2 separate regions of the Homo sapiens genome follow, and region 2 is linked to region 1. The links are contacts of gene promoters, found by promoter capture Hi-C in blood cells and fetal thymus (Javierre and others, 2016). All regions are on one chromosome and are shown on one strand. Each heading gives the region's core, a stretch centred on a gene start or on the middle of the fragment in contact. The rest is flanking DNA. Distances are from core to core; before and after follow the strand shown. Region 1 holds the start of CRYBG1 (crystallin beta-gamma domain containing 1). Region 2 has its middle 24 kb from the start of CD24.

Region 1 (6,979 bases), core at 2,007-4,506:
CAGCACTTTGGGAGGCTGAGGCAGGAGGATCACTTGAGCTCAGGAGTTCAAGATCAGCCTGGGCAACATAGAGAGACCCCATCTCTTAAAAAAAAAAAGAGAAAAAAAGACCTGTCTGAAACATCCTAGGTGTCCAACTGAGTGAGTACACCAATTCATTTGATTACTTACTTTACTTACTGGACATTTGCGTCTGGAAAATATAAGAATAAATGAGAAATGTTCTTAAGTTTCTCTGAGGCTAATAGGAGATATAGAAATGTAAACCAGTTTGATGCAACCTGAAAGGTGTGATAACAAAAATATGTTTCTGATTCACTGGTGGCACAAAGGAGGGGTGGAGTGAAAAATTCTGCTTGGAAAAGCCAGGAATGAAAGACTAAGTTACTGAACGTAGAAATATTTTTGAGTGTGCATAAAGATTTCTTCTTGTCCCTTTTCCCCCTTTTCTTCTCTTTTCCCTTCTTCCCTTTCCCTTTTCTTTGCCTTTTCTTACTGTTCCCTTTGCCCTTTAAGGTTCAATCCAAGGGCCATCTTCATAGTAAATCTTTACTGACCACTCCCCTTCCTCCCTTCCAAACTACCACGCTAAGTTAGTAACTTTTCTAAACTCCCCTAATACCTTGTACATACCACCACTGATTCTTTTAGCCTTTGATGTGTGTTTGTGTACATATATATGTATATCACATGATATATATATCAGATGATTTTATATATATATATATATATATATATATATATATATATATATATATATGATATAATCTATGCATCTGTCATTGCCTCCTCCCCCAAGTCAGGGCCTGGCACATAATTAGTACAGTACTCAATAAGTTCAATAACTGTTTCTTGAGGAAATATAAATTAAAACTGCAATGTGATACCACCACATCCCCATCAGAATGGCCACAATGAAAAGGATTGTTAATATCAAGTGTTGATGAAGATATTGAAAAACTGGAAATTTCAAACATGCTAGAAAGAATATAAATGGGAAACTTTTTTGGCAGAATTCACTAAAGCTGAACATATGCATATTGTATTACCCAACGATTGAACTTCCGGGTATAAGTATCCAACAGAAATGAATGTGTACATCTCAGAAGGTTCATATCAATTTTATTCATAATAGCCCCAAACTGGAAACAACCTAATGTCCATCCACAATAATGGATAAATGAATTGTGGCATATTCATATCATGGAACAGTATACAATAATTTTTTTAAATGAAAAACTGCTATGGGTCAGGTGCAGGGGCTCACCCCTGTAATCTCAACACTTTGGTGGGAGGCTGAGGCGGACAAGTCACTTGAGCTCAGGAGTTCGAGACCAGCCTAGGCAACATGGAAAAACCCAGTCTCTACAAATGTACCCCCTCCAAAAAAAAAAAAAAAGCCCGGTCCTGTGGTGTGTGCCTGTAGTCCTGGCTGCTCAGGAGGCTGAGGTGGGACGATCACTTGTGCTCAGGTGGTCAAGGCTGCAGTGAGTGCAGTGAGAGGTGATGGTAACAGTGTACTCCTACCTGAGTGACAGAGTGAGACCCTGTCTCAAACAAAACAAGACAAAAAACTGCTACAATATAAGCAACAATATAGATGATTTTCACCGACTAATATTGAGCAAAGCAAACCAGAAACAGAGTACATATTGTGATTTTCCACTAAAATGAAATTCCAGAAAAGGTCAAATTAATCTCCAGCAAAAGAGGATGAAATAATGGTTAACTTTTACAGGTGGGAGGGGTAATGTACTGGAAGAGGACAGTAGGGAGATTTTTAAAGTTTTGAAAGTATTCTATATTTTTATAATCATATATATTTACCTATTATTATTATTTGAGACATAGTCTCATCCTGTTGCTCAGGCTGGAGTGCAGTGGCGCCATCTCGGCTCACTGCAACCTCTGCCTCCTGGGTTCAAGCGATTCTCATGTCTCGGCCTCCCGAGTACCTGGGATTACAGGCGCACCTCCACCACCACGCCCAGCTAATTTTTTTTTTGTATTTTTAGTAGAGAAGGGGTTTCACCATGTTGGCCAGGCTGGTCTCAAACTCCTGACTTCAAGTGATCTGCCTGCCTCGGCTTCCCAAAGTGCTGGGATTACAGGCGTGAGCCACCGCTCCTGGCCTATAATCATACATTTAAAAGCCACATACGGAAGAATTTTCTAGGACAATGTCAACTCTCCATTAAAAAACTTTTCACACCCCAACCACATAAATATGTAAAAATTTGAGTTTTACCCTTATGATTTGTGCATTTTACTGTCTATAAATTACATCTTGATAAAAATGTAAATAAAAACAAATAAAAATGAATGTTCCTTGAATGAGTGAATAAACGAATGAATGAGTTGTGTTTTCAAAGAGGAAAATAAAGACATTACCGTGAAAGAGGATCTTGTACTGCATTGAATTTTTAAGTAGTGCTTAGTTCTTGCACTTTCTTTGCTCTAATGATGCCCAAAATAATTGTTCGTTTACTTACTTTGCTTAAGTATTAATTTCCTTTGCTATTTAGCCACGACTGTGAAGTTAAGACAAGAAAGTCATCAACAGTAATGCAGATGATGTAAATACCTTGTGGGACTGGCATTTAATTTACTGCGAGGGATCTATTAAGCTCTTGGGGAATTGGGGAATATGCCTAATTCCCTTCTGGCGTTTTTAATTTTTTTAATCCTTTTGTGTTTTATGAGATGTGAGTACAAATTAATTATTCAGACTCTTGAGAGAGGAGACGAGTTGGCGGAGTTGCCACCCGTGTTCACGAACAGGAACAGAAGCCACCAGCACATGACATTGCCCAAGCCACCCAGAGATCAGAGTGGAAGAGTCCTAATTGCTGGGCGGCCCAGCCCCGGGATGTGCCTCTCCCATCCTTCTCCAGGCGGGGCTCGTGGCTAAGCAGCGACTCACCCTGCCAGCCTGTCACAGGCCAAGAGCGGCCAACAACTCCGCAGGCGACAATGGCCGCTGCACCCCAGGCGCTGTGGAAGCCCGACCCGGCTCTGGGTCCCATCTTAGAGCCTGGGATGCAGTGTCGGGAGTCGCGGTGCCCAGAGCATCCAGTAGGTGTCGCTGTCCCACGGCCGCCGCGCGCCCCCGGGGTGGGGAGCCGGGGCGTGTCTGCCTCACCTGGGGCTCCCGGCGCGAGCGCCTCACCTGGGCTAGCGCCCCTTGCCGCCCGCGCCGCGCGGGGGCGCTCTTCCGCGGCTGGGTCCCCGCCTCCGCCCCAACAGCTCGGGCTGCAGTGCTGCTCGCGCTGCGCTGGGTGCTGGTTCTGCAACCCGCGGCCGTCCCCCCGCATCCGCGACGAGGGGGCGGGGTCCCACGGCGCGCTGAGAAAGGCGGGCGAGCTGGCGCTCAGGTGTGTTCTTCCATAGGGCCCGGGCGGCAGAGAGGACCGCGTCCCGGCAGTCGGAGCGGGAGGAGGACAAGACGATGCCGCTGTCCCCGCCAGCCCAGGGCGACCCCGGGGAGCCCAGCCCGTGCAGGCCCCCTAAGAAGCACACCACCTTCCACCTCTGGCGCTCCAAAAAGAAGCAGCAGCCGGCGCCGCCTGACTGTGGGGTGTTCGTTCCGCACCCGCTCCCGGCGCCTGCCGGAGAGGCCAGGTGAGCTCCTCGCCCGAGCCCTCCAGTCCCACCTCCTCCTCCTCCTCCTTCTCCTGCTGCGCTAGCCCTTGGACTCCTGACCCCACTTGGAGGAGGGGAAAGCCCCGGGGTCTGTTTCAGTCCGCAGGAGGGTACCCGGGTCCGGAGGGGAGCGATCGTAGCCGCTGGGGTTGACGAGGTTCCTCGCGGCTTTTGGTTCAGACCAAGCACCGGCGAGAGGAACTTGTGCCCACGCATGTGGCCTTTAGTATGACTGCAAAGTTTTCATGCAGGAGCCTCCCGCATCAGCCTGCTAACCAGAGCGGCGGGGAGTGAGGGTTGTTACCGTCCTAAATGATGGCGGGAACTCTGCTTTGGGGTTAGGCACTGCTTTTGAGCTAGTGTCTTTATTGTAAAGCTCTTTATTGTGAATATCTGTAAGATCTGTGCTCTTACAGATGTTATACCCCCATTCTCCTCGCAACATACGAAGGGAGGAGGAAGTGGCAGGAATGGTTACCCCCATTTCATGGGTGGAGGAACTGAGACCAAAGGATAAATGGCTTCTCCCCATTGGAGCCAGTGGCAGAGCTAGAGAGCACCTAGTTATCAAAACTGTAGTTACCATTGTGCTTTTTGATTTTTATCATGGTTTTGAAGTGGTTTTATTCTATATGTATAATTATTCAACTATAGCATCAGAGTTTATGCATTCGTTGAATAATAATCAATTTGAAGTAACAGCGTATTTACATGGCTCAGAGGTGTGAAATATTTATAGTGATGGACAATTGACAATGTCCAGTAAATCCTTCCAAATGTGTTTTTAAAATACACCCTATGAGGGCCAGAATAAAATTGTGCAAAATTTGCATTTTAGACATGGTTTTCCTTTTATTTCTTTCTTTCTTTTTTTTTTTTTTTTTCTGAGACGGAGTCTTGCTCTGTCACCCAGGCTGGAGTGCACTGGCCCAATCCCGGCTCACTGCAAGCTCCACCTCCCGGGTTCACGCCATTCTCCTGCCTCAGCCCCCGAGTAGCTGGGACCACAGGCGCCCGCCACCACGCCCGGCTAATTTTTTGTATTTTTAGTAGAAACGGGGTTTCACCGTGTTAGACAGGATGGTCTCGATCTCCTGACCTCATGATCCGCCCGCCTCGGCCTCCCAAAGTGCTGGGATTACAGGCATGAGCCACCGCGCCCGGCCTCTCCTTTTATTTGTAAAAAAAGTCAATTTTACGATCTATTTTCATTCACTTATTGTATTGAGTACCTTAGCTAAGTGCCATGTACTGCGATATAAAAAACAATGAGAGACAGGAATAATTGTGTCATCAAAGAATTGTTAGTCTCTTGTGGATACCAAAAAATGCAATGATAGATGCCAGCACACAGGAGGGGATCAGGGAGGCTTCCTGGAGGAGGATAGGTGAAGTGGCTTAGGCAGAAACAGGGAGGAGCAGCGAGTTCCAGGCAGGGGCTGCACTGTGCACATCACCAGCACTTAGAAGAGCGTGGCACTTCCTGAGAAGCGCAAGTGGTTGCAGCGGGGAGGTCTAGGTGTGAGTGGGTAAGGGTAGGAAACCTAAGAAAGAAGTCATTTTATTTTTCTCTCATATTTTATCATCCACATTGGTAATCAGTTGTAGTAGAAATATATTACCTATTCAAACGTTTACTGTGCCTAATTATAGATTATACTTTCTAACAAAATACAGTATTTAATGTACCCAACATTGAAGTTCTTTTCTATTACCTCAGTAAATATTTTAAACATTTCCATCGTGGTTTTCCTTTTAAGATCTAGTCTTATCATTTACTGTCTATCAAAACATAATAATACACAGCTATAGGTAATTTATTCAAATGTAAATACATTTTAGTATAAAATTTAAAATAGGAGGCCGGGCGCGGTGGCTCACGCCTGTAATCCCAGCACTTTGGGAGGCCGAGACGGGCGGATCACGAGGTCAGGAGATCGAGACCATCCTGGCTAACACGGTGAAACCCCGTCTCTACTAAAAATACAAAAATTAGCCGGGCATGGTGGCGCGCGCCTGTAGTCCCAGCTACACGGGAGGCTGAGGCAGGAGAATGGCGTGAACCCGGGAGGCGGAGCTTGCAGTGAGTCGAGATCGCGCCACTGCACTCCAGCCTGGGCGACAGAGCGAAACTCCGTCTCAAAAAAAAAAAAAAAAAAAAAAAATTAAAATAGGAGATTTGCTTCTCTCCTTGAGTTTTTTTATATTTTAGTGCAGTCTTGAAACACTTCATTTTTTCCTTCAGAACCGTGATGAACTTCGTATTAATAAATGTTCTGAAAAACTAAACGTACTAGTCTGTCTTTGGGATGTTTTTCTAGTTAGATCATCTTTATAAATATTTCATTTACTTCTAAGAGAGTGTACTTCTTTCTGGTTTAAAGAGAGTGGCAAAAGCACCCTTAGATTTCAAGCCAGTTTGCCCAGTGTGGCTCTCTTAAGCCTCCTGACCATATCCCTTCATTTCTGTCCAGGACTTGGAAGTGATGGAATTTGGCTGGAATGTGCAGCACTCACTGTGGTTTTTGTCTCTAAATAAGGAGGGGACAGTCAGGTAGCCACCCATATTTGCTTATTTGATTAATATTATGGGTGTTTAGGTCAGAAAAAAATGAATTTATCTACTAGCTTTGTGACCTTGGGCAAGTTATTTCACCTCTTAAAATCTCAATTTCCTCATCTGTAATATGGAGACAATAGGATGCTGACTCTGTAGGGTTGTCATGAATATTAAATGAAAGTTTATGTTATTAAGTGCAAAAACCTTAACACACTTCTGAGCACAAAGTAGAAACTCAGTAAATGCAAAAGCATCCTGGTCATCATCATCATCATCATCATCATCAAAGCAAAGGTCTAATGGAAGAAATGGAAAAGATAGGTTTGGATAGGGGAAAACCAACTCTAGGAAGATCTTTTCCTAGAAAAGTTTACCAGTCCAGCCGGGTGCGGTCACTCACGCCTCTAATCCCAGTACTTTGGGAGGCCAAAGCAGGTGGATCACCTGAGGTCAGGAGTTTGAGACCAGCTTGGCCAACATAGTGAAACCTCATCTTTACTAAAAGTACAAAAAAATTAGCTGGGCATGGTGGCTCACACCTGTAATCCCAGCTACTCAGGAGGCTGAGACAGGAGAATCCCTTGAACCCAGGAGATGAAGGTTGTGGTGAGCCAAGATCATGCCATCGCACTCTAGCCTGGGCAACAAGAGTGAAACTCCATCTCAAAAAATAAAAAAAAAAAGAAAGAAAAGCTTGCCAGTCCAAAGATGATTTAAAGTTTATTAAAGTCAGATTTTCGTATTCTGCAAATATTTGTGGCTTTTGGTATAGACATT
Region 2 (6,979 bases), core at 2,887-5,386, 640 kb after region 1:
GGAGATCGAGACCATCCTGGCTAACACGGTGAAACCCCGTCTCTACTAAAAATCCAAAACAATTAGCCGAGCATGGTGGCGGGCGCCTGTAGTCCCAGCTACTCAGGAGGCTGAGGCAGGAGAATGGTGTGAACCCGGGAGGCGGAGCTTGCATTGAGCCAAGATCGCGCCACTGCACTCCAGCCTGGGCAACAGAGCAAGACTCCATCTCAAAAAAAAAAAAAAAAAAATCCTTCAGGGTATATGGTGGGGATGTCTTGCCAGATAACAATAATTCAAGCATACCCTGAGAATGACCCCAGGTTCTCTTTCTTTGTTTTTTTGAGACAAAGTCTCACTCTGTCACCCAGGCTGGAGTGTAATAGTGCGATCTCAGCTCACTGCAACCTCCACCTCCCAGGCTCAAGTGATTCTCCTGCCTCAGCCTCCCGTGTAGCCAGTACTACAGGTGCACAGCACCGCATTGGGCTAATTTTTGTATTTTTGGTAGAGATTGGGTTTCACCATGTTGCCCAGGCTAGTCTCGAATGAGACCAGAGCTCAGGTGATCTGCCTGCCTCAGCTTCCAAAAGTGCTGGGATTACAGGTGTGAGCCACTGTACCAGGCCGTTTGTTTGTTTGTTTGTTTGTTTGTTTGTTTGAGACAGGGGTCTCACTGTGTTGCCCAGGCTGGTCTTGAACTGCTGGGCTCAAATGATCTTCCTGCCTCAGCCTCCCAAAGTGCTAAGATTACAGGCATGAGCTGCCATACATGGCTGACCCTATGTTCTTTGGTGAATGTTTGTTCACTGTTCTGAGCTATGGACTCTGGGAGAGGCCAACCTGGATGTTTACGCTGTACTTATGAAGGTGTGAAGGCTCAGAGCAGGGACACAGATGGGGGCATGAAGAACACCTGGACCCTGGCCTCGTTCCTTGGAACACAAGTCATACAAGAAGCCAGTGGCCTAGGCTGGGCACAGTGGCTTACGGCTGTAATCCCAGCACTTTGGGAGGCCAAGGCAGGCAGATCACTTGAGGTCAGGAGTTCGAGACCAGCCTTGCCAACATGGTGAAACCCCATCTCTACTAAAAAACATACAAAAATTAGCCGGGCATGGTGGCACGTGCCCACCATGCTACTCGGGAGGCTGAGGCATGAGAATCGCTTGAACCCAGGAGGCAGAGGTTACAGTGAGCCAAGATGGCACCACTGTGCTCCAGCCTGTGAGACAGAGTAAGACTCCTTCTCAAAAAAAGAAAAAAAAATAAATCAATGGCCTTTGTTTTAAGCTAGGTGGAGGTTGCTAAGTAGAGGTTGCTGTGTGGGAGTTCCTACTAACCTGCATGCTTTCCACAAAAGGCAGTGGAACTCCTGTCCAGCCTTCCACTCTTGGACACTCCATACATAAGTCCCCTGAATAAACTCTGTCTTTTTTTTTTTTTTTTTTTTTGAGATGGAGTTTCACTATTGTTGCCCAGGCTGCAGTGCAATGGCACAATCTTGGCTCACTGCAACCTCTGCCTCCTGGGTTCAAGTGATTCTCCTACCTCAGCCCCCTGAGTAGCTGGGATTACAGGCGTGCGCCACCATGCCCAGCTCATATTGTATTTTTAGTAGAGACCAGGTTTCTCCATGTTGATCAGGCTGGTCTCAAACTCCCGATCTCAGGTGATCTGCCCCTCTCAGCCTCCCAAAGTGCTGGGATTACAGGTGTGAGCCACCATGCCCGCCCTAAACTCTATGTCTTACCCACTGTCTTCAGGTCTTTTCTTCGGTCTCTCGGTGACTGTGCCTTCCCAGTTTGCCTGTTTGGGGGCCCAGCACAACACAAGGAAGAACGCAAGCCAAGGTCTTTCTTTGCTTGGATGATTTCTATGCATTTCTCAGGACCCAGATTAGTGTCATCTCCTTGGAAAGCCATCCCTTACCCTTCAGCCTTGGTTAGGGCCTTTCTGAAGTGTCCACCCCTGCATCCCCCAAGTCCCCAAGCTTTCCTCTGTCATTGTACGTGTAACAGGGATTGCAGCTTTTTCCTCACCAGCTGAGCTCCTTAAAGAAAGGAACCACATCATGTTCATCTTCCTTTCCCCAGTACCTAGTAAAGTGCCTAGTACATAATAAGTCCTCAGCAAATGAATTTCTACACAGGAACCACCAGAATCCAAGCACAATGAGAGGAAGGCCACCTTTTACTCTAACTCCGCCTACTCACTTTATCTTGAATTTATTAACATCCTAGGCTAAGAGCCATTTTATATCTCAACAGAAACAGCAATCTTAGAAAATATCTTCAAGTAACTCTTAAATTAGGATACTATTAAGCCTCCTGGCTAATCTTAGAGCCCTTCGATGGTAGTTTTTTGATTTATATAACCAGTTTCTAAAACACATCTTCACTCACTAATAAACCGACACGTATGTGGGTCATTCTTCTGAAATTTGTGTTTTATTCTAACTGTATATGAAGACTTTGATTTGGTTGTACATGAGAATTTAATCTTTCCACTATGGTGGTAATTTTTTATTTGTCTTAGAGCCTCAGATGTGGCCACCCTGGGTACAACAGGGCATATCATTTCTGTCTCATCTGTAACCTACAGGATCAAGCAGACCTGAGCTCAGATTTCAGCTCACCCACTTCCACCACAGACTTGCCTTTCTGAGCCTCCTGTAAAATGAAAATGATCATATTTATGCTGGAGAGTGTAACAGGATGTGAACATGGAAGTCCTTTCTGTCTCCATTTCAACCGAAGCTCAAAGGCCTTCAACAAAACAAGTTCTCAGGTTCCAAAGTGAGGTGCCAAGCGCCCCCTGCAGGAACTGCAGAGCAAAGGCGCTTTCTCCTCACCCCAGTCCAGTGAGAGGTGCTCTTAGGGGAATAACGGGAGAGACAAACACTTATCTCTTAGAGTTTAGTGGAAGAAGAAAAAAGAATGAGAAATTTAAAGGTCAAGGCTGTGCCAGAGCAGGAAAGGGGCTGCATCATGGGCAGCCTGCCCATCCTCCAACGTCAGCCAGAGACACTCAGCTCTACGTTCCAGACGTGGGCTCCCAGGAGAGCTCTCTGGGGTGCATTTTGAAAGGCCCCCAACCTGAGGTGACATTCTGCCATGGGCAAGCCAGCCTCAGCAGGGGCTGGAGGCGTTCCACAGAGCAGAAAGGGGGACGCGGTCGTGTGTGGGGGGCGTCAAAAGCAAGGCAGCAGCATTGCCCCAGTCAGGCCTGTTGCCACACTGGGGGCAGAGGGAAAGCTTTCTCTCTGCCCACTGAAGGTTTGCAGAGCATAAACTGATGAAATGCAGATACACAGGAGAAAAAGGCATACGAAATTTACTTAATGTGCATAGAAGAAAATCACAAGACTATGATTACCCAGTAACCCGATGAGGCCCGGCTGCTTATATTCTTCTCCATGGGGAAAGGGAGACAGGGGTTGTAGGAGTAAATGATTTCCAAAGGAAATGAATGAGCCAAAGAACGATGGCTGGGGACAAAGTTCCTTTGAGCACTGGGGAAGGCGGCAGGAAGGTGAGGGGTGGACTATTACTGTGAACAAGTGTTCTTTTTTTTTTTTTTTTTTTTTGAGACAGAGTCTCACTCTGTCACCCAGGCTGGAGTGCAGTGGCATGATCTTGGCTCACTGCAACCTCCACCTCCCGGGTTCAAGCAATTCTCCTGCCTCAGCCTCCCCAGTAGCTAGGACTACAGGTGCGCACCACAACGCCCGGCTAATGTTTGTATTTTTAGTAGAGACGGGGTTTCACCATGTTGGTCAGGCTGGTCTCAAACTCCTGACCTCAGGTGATCCACCTGCCTCAGTCTCCCAAAGTGCTGGGATTACACACACACATGAGCCACCGCCCAGACCATCAATGTTGTCTTATTATGCAGATAAAGTCTCCCAGGCAATCTCTCAGGGCTGCTGTCAGAAGAATAGTTAAAAGCTCCACCTGGTTCGGTGGCTCACCCCTGCAATCCCAGCACTTTCAGAGGCCGAGGCGGACAGATCACCTGAGGTCAGGAGTTTGAGACCAGCCTGGCCAACATGGGGAAACCCTGTCTCTACTAAATACAAACATTAGCCAGTGTGGATGCAAGTGCCTGTAATCCCAGCTACTGGGGAGGCTGAGGCAGGATAATCACTTGAACCTGGGAATTGGAGGTTGCAGTGAGCCAAGATCAAGCCACTGCACTCCAACCTGGGTGACAGAGGGAGACTCCGTCTCAAAAAAAAAAAAAAAAGAAGAAGAATAGTTGAAGGCTGCGTACAGTGGCTCACACCTTTAACCCAGCACTTTGGGAGGCTGAGGTAGGAGGGCCCTTTCAGCCCAGTAGTTTGAGACCAGCCGGGGCAACATGACAAAACCCTGTGTCTACACACACACACACACACACACACACACACATACACACAAACACAAAAGCCAGGCACACAGCTGTAGTCCCAGCTACTCTGGAGGCTGAAGTGGTGGAGGCTGAGTTAGGAGGATTGCTTGACCCTGGAAGGTAGAGGCTGCAGTGAGCTGTAATCTCGCTACTGTACTCCACACTGGTTGACAGAGTGAGCTGCTGTCTCAAAAAAAATTTTTTTTGGCCGGGAGCGGTGGCTCACGCCTGTAATCCCAGCACTTTGAGAGGCCAAGGCGGGTGGATCACAAGGTCAGGAGCTCGAGACCAGCCTGGCCAAGATGGTGAAACCCCATCTCTACTAAAAATACAAAAATGAGCCGGGCACAGTGGCAGGTGCCTGTAATCCCAGCTACTTGGGAGGCTGAGGCAGGAGAATAGCTTGAACCCAGGAGGCAGAAGTTGCAGTGAACCAAGATCGCACACTCTAGCCTGGGCAACAGAGCAAGACTCTGTCTCAAAAAAAAAGGTTTTTTTTACTAATAATTTAAAATTTACATAATAAAATAAAAATAGATGGAAAGTCTATCTGGGTATGGTGATGACTCCCAGTCTCTTCTATTCTCGGGTAGTTGATCATTCCTGGCTATCTGATGAGGTTCCTAGAGAGAGGGGTCTTAAAATAATTGCATTTATTTTGGAAAGAAGCTTTGTTAGTCAGATAAGGAAATTCCAGAGAGAGTTCCTGGGAAAGAAAGAGAAACAAAGAGACAGAAAAGCTGGGAAAAGTCAAGAGAGGGAACTTGGTTCTGAGGCTTATCTCTGAGGCCTTTCAATTTCAAGAAGTAAACTCCATGAGTTTGAAAGAGTTGGCTTAATCTTCTCAGTGTACACAATCAAATATGTACATAATTATATACGTACATAATCGTATAAATTCAGTGTATATAATTGTATAAATTTATGAAAGTTGTTATCCCCTACTGTTTCCCAGAAAACCCTTGACTCGGAGATGGGAAGAACTTGCATTCATTGTGCACCCCTTAGACAACTGTCTGTTCCATCACACACCAAGGCCTTCATGGACATCTCTGGCCCTGCTGAAATGGAATAAAGAAACTCCCGGCCAGGCGCGGTGGCTCACACCTGTAATCCCAGCACTTTGGGAGGGTGAGGCGGGCAGATTACGATGTCAAGAAATTGAGACCATTCTAGCCAACATGGTGAAACCCCGTCTCTACTAAAAATACAAAAATTAACCGGGCGTGGTGGTGGACATCTGTAGTCCGAGCTACTCGGGAAACTGAGGCAGGAGAATTGCTTGCACTAGGAGGTGGAGGTTTCAGTGAGCCGAGATCGCGCCACTGTACTCCACCCTGGGTGACAGAGCAAGACTCTCTCAAAAAAAAAAAAAAAAAAAAAAAAGTAAGCATTTGGTCTAAATTATGCAAGTCAGATATTAAGTTTACTAAATGCTTTAAGGTCATAAAGTGCTTCTTTGTCTTTTGAAAATTGTTCAATTTACCTACTTTGGAGCATTAGATTCTAAATAAAGACTAGGATATGTGGAATTAGCCATGCCCCCTAGCTATGCAAAGAAGGTTATAAAGAAAAGATTTTAAGGCTGGGTGTGGTGGCTCACACTCATAATCCCAGCATTTTGGGAGGCCGAGGAGGGTGGATTACTTGAGGTCAGGAGTTTTAGACTAGCCTGGCCAACATGGCAAAACCCCATCTCTACTGAAAATACAAAAATGAGCCGGGAGTGGTGTCAGGCACCTGTAATCTCAGCTACTCAGGAGGCTGAGGCAGGAGAACCATTTCAACCCGGGAGGTGGAGGTTGTAGTGAGCCAAGATCGGGCCACTGCACTCCAGCCTGGGCGATAGGGCAAGACTCTGTCTCAAAAAAAAAAGAAAGAAAAGAAAAGAAATAAAAGAAGAAATTTTGTATAAGAAAGGATGTTGTATGGTGAATACTTGTCCTAAAGTAAAATGACTGATTGCTTTAAAAAAGGGAATTTATGCAAGAAATATATAAGTTAAAGGTTTCTGGGTCTCCTAAATGCTTCATAAAATGCCATTAGGACTCTTAACTGTACAACTTTCCTGCTTTACAGCTAGATAAGGCCTGGGACACATGAAGTTAGACAACGAAAAGAGTCAGACCTTATCTGCACTTCTGTCTACTGTCACAGGCTCCACACCTAGCACATAATTAAAAATCTGAACTCAACCAGGCACAGTGGCTCACGCCTGTAATCCCAGAACTTTGGGAGTCCGAGACAGGTGGATCACGAGGTCAAGAGATTGAGACCATCCTGGCCAACATGGTAAAACCCTGTCTCTACTAAAAATACAAAATTTAACTAGGCATGGTGGTGCTACTTGGGAGGCTGTGGGAGGAGAATCACTTGAACCCGGGAGGCTGCGGTTACAGTGAGCTGAGATCGGGCCACTGCACTCCAGCCTGGCAACAGAGCAAGACTCCGTCTAAAAAAAAAATTCTGAACTTACCAAGGTTTTCACCAAAAGTAAAAGTTGCTAAGAGTTAACAGTGTAACATATATTTGGGACTACTAAAAAAAAAGTTATACGTGCAAGGTGTATAGAAAAAGTGAAATGTGGCCGGGTGCGGTGGCTCATACC

The links. Contacts are between HindIII fragments. The CHiCAGO score rates a contact against its expected background, and 5 or more counts as called.
Region 2: a fragment that was not itself captured here is called in contact with the fragment with the promoter of CRYBG1 in region 1 in 10 of 17 cell types (neutrophils, M2 macrophages, M1 macrophages and 7 more); the score reaches 13.4 in neutrophils.

Annotation. Positions count from the first base shown.
Region 1 is chr6:106,357,461-106,364,439 of GRCh38, forward strand. CRYBG1 (crystallin beta-gamma domain containing 1) reads left to right here and starts at 3,257. Exons shown (of 22, transcript NM_001371242.2): 1 at 3,257-3,621. The coding sequence starts at 3,449. RefSeq lists silencers at 3,058-3,267, 3,288-3,367 and an enhancer at 3,263-4,129. The HindIII fragment of the contact is 8,941 bases long and covers 1-6,893 here.
Region 2 is chr6:106,995,010-107,001,988 of GRCh38, forward strand. No RefSeq gene overlaps it. Among named protein-coding and RNA genes, the nearest start is that of CD24, 24 kb to the left of the region's middle. The HindIII fragment of the contact is 1,804 bases long and covers 3,235-5,038 here.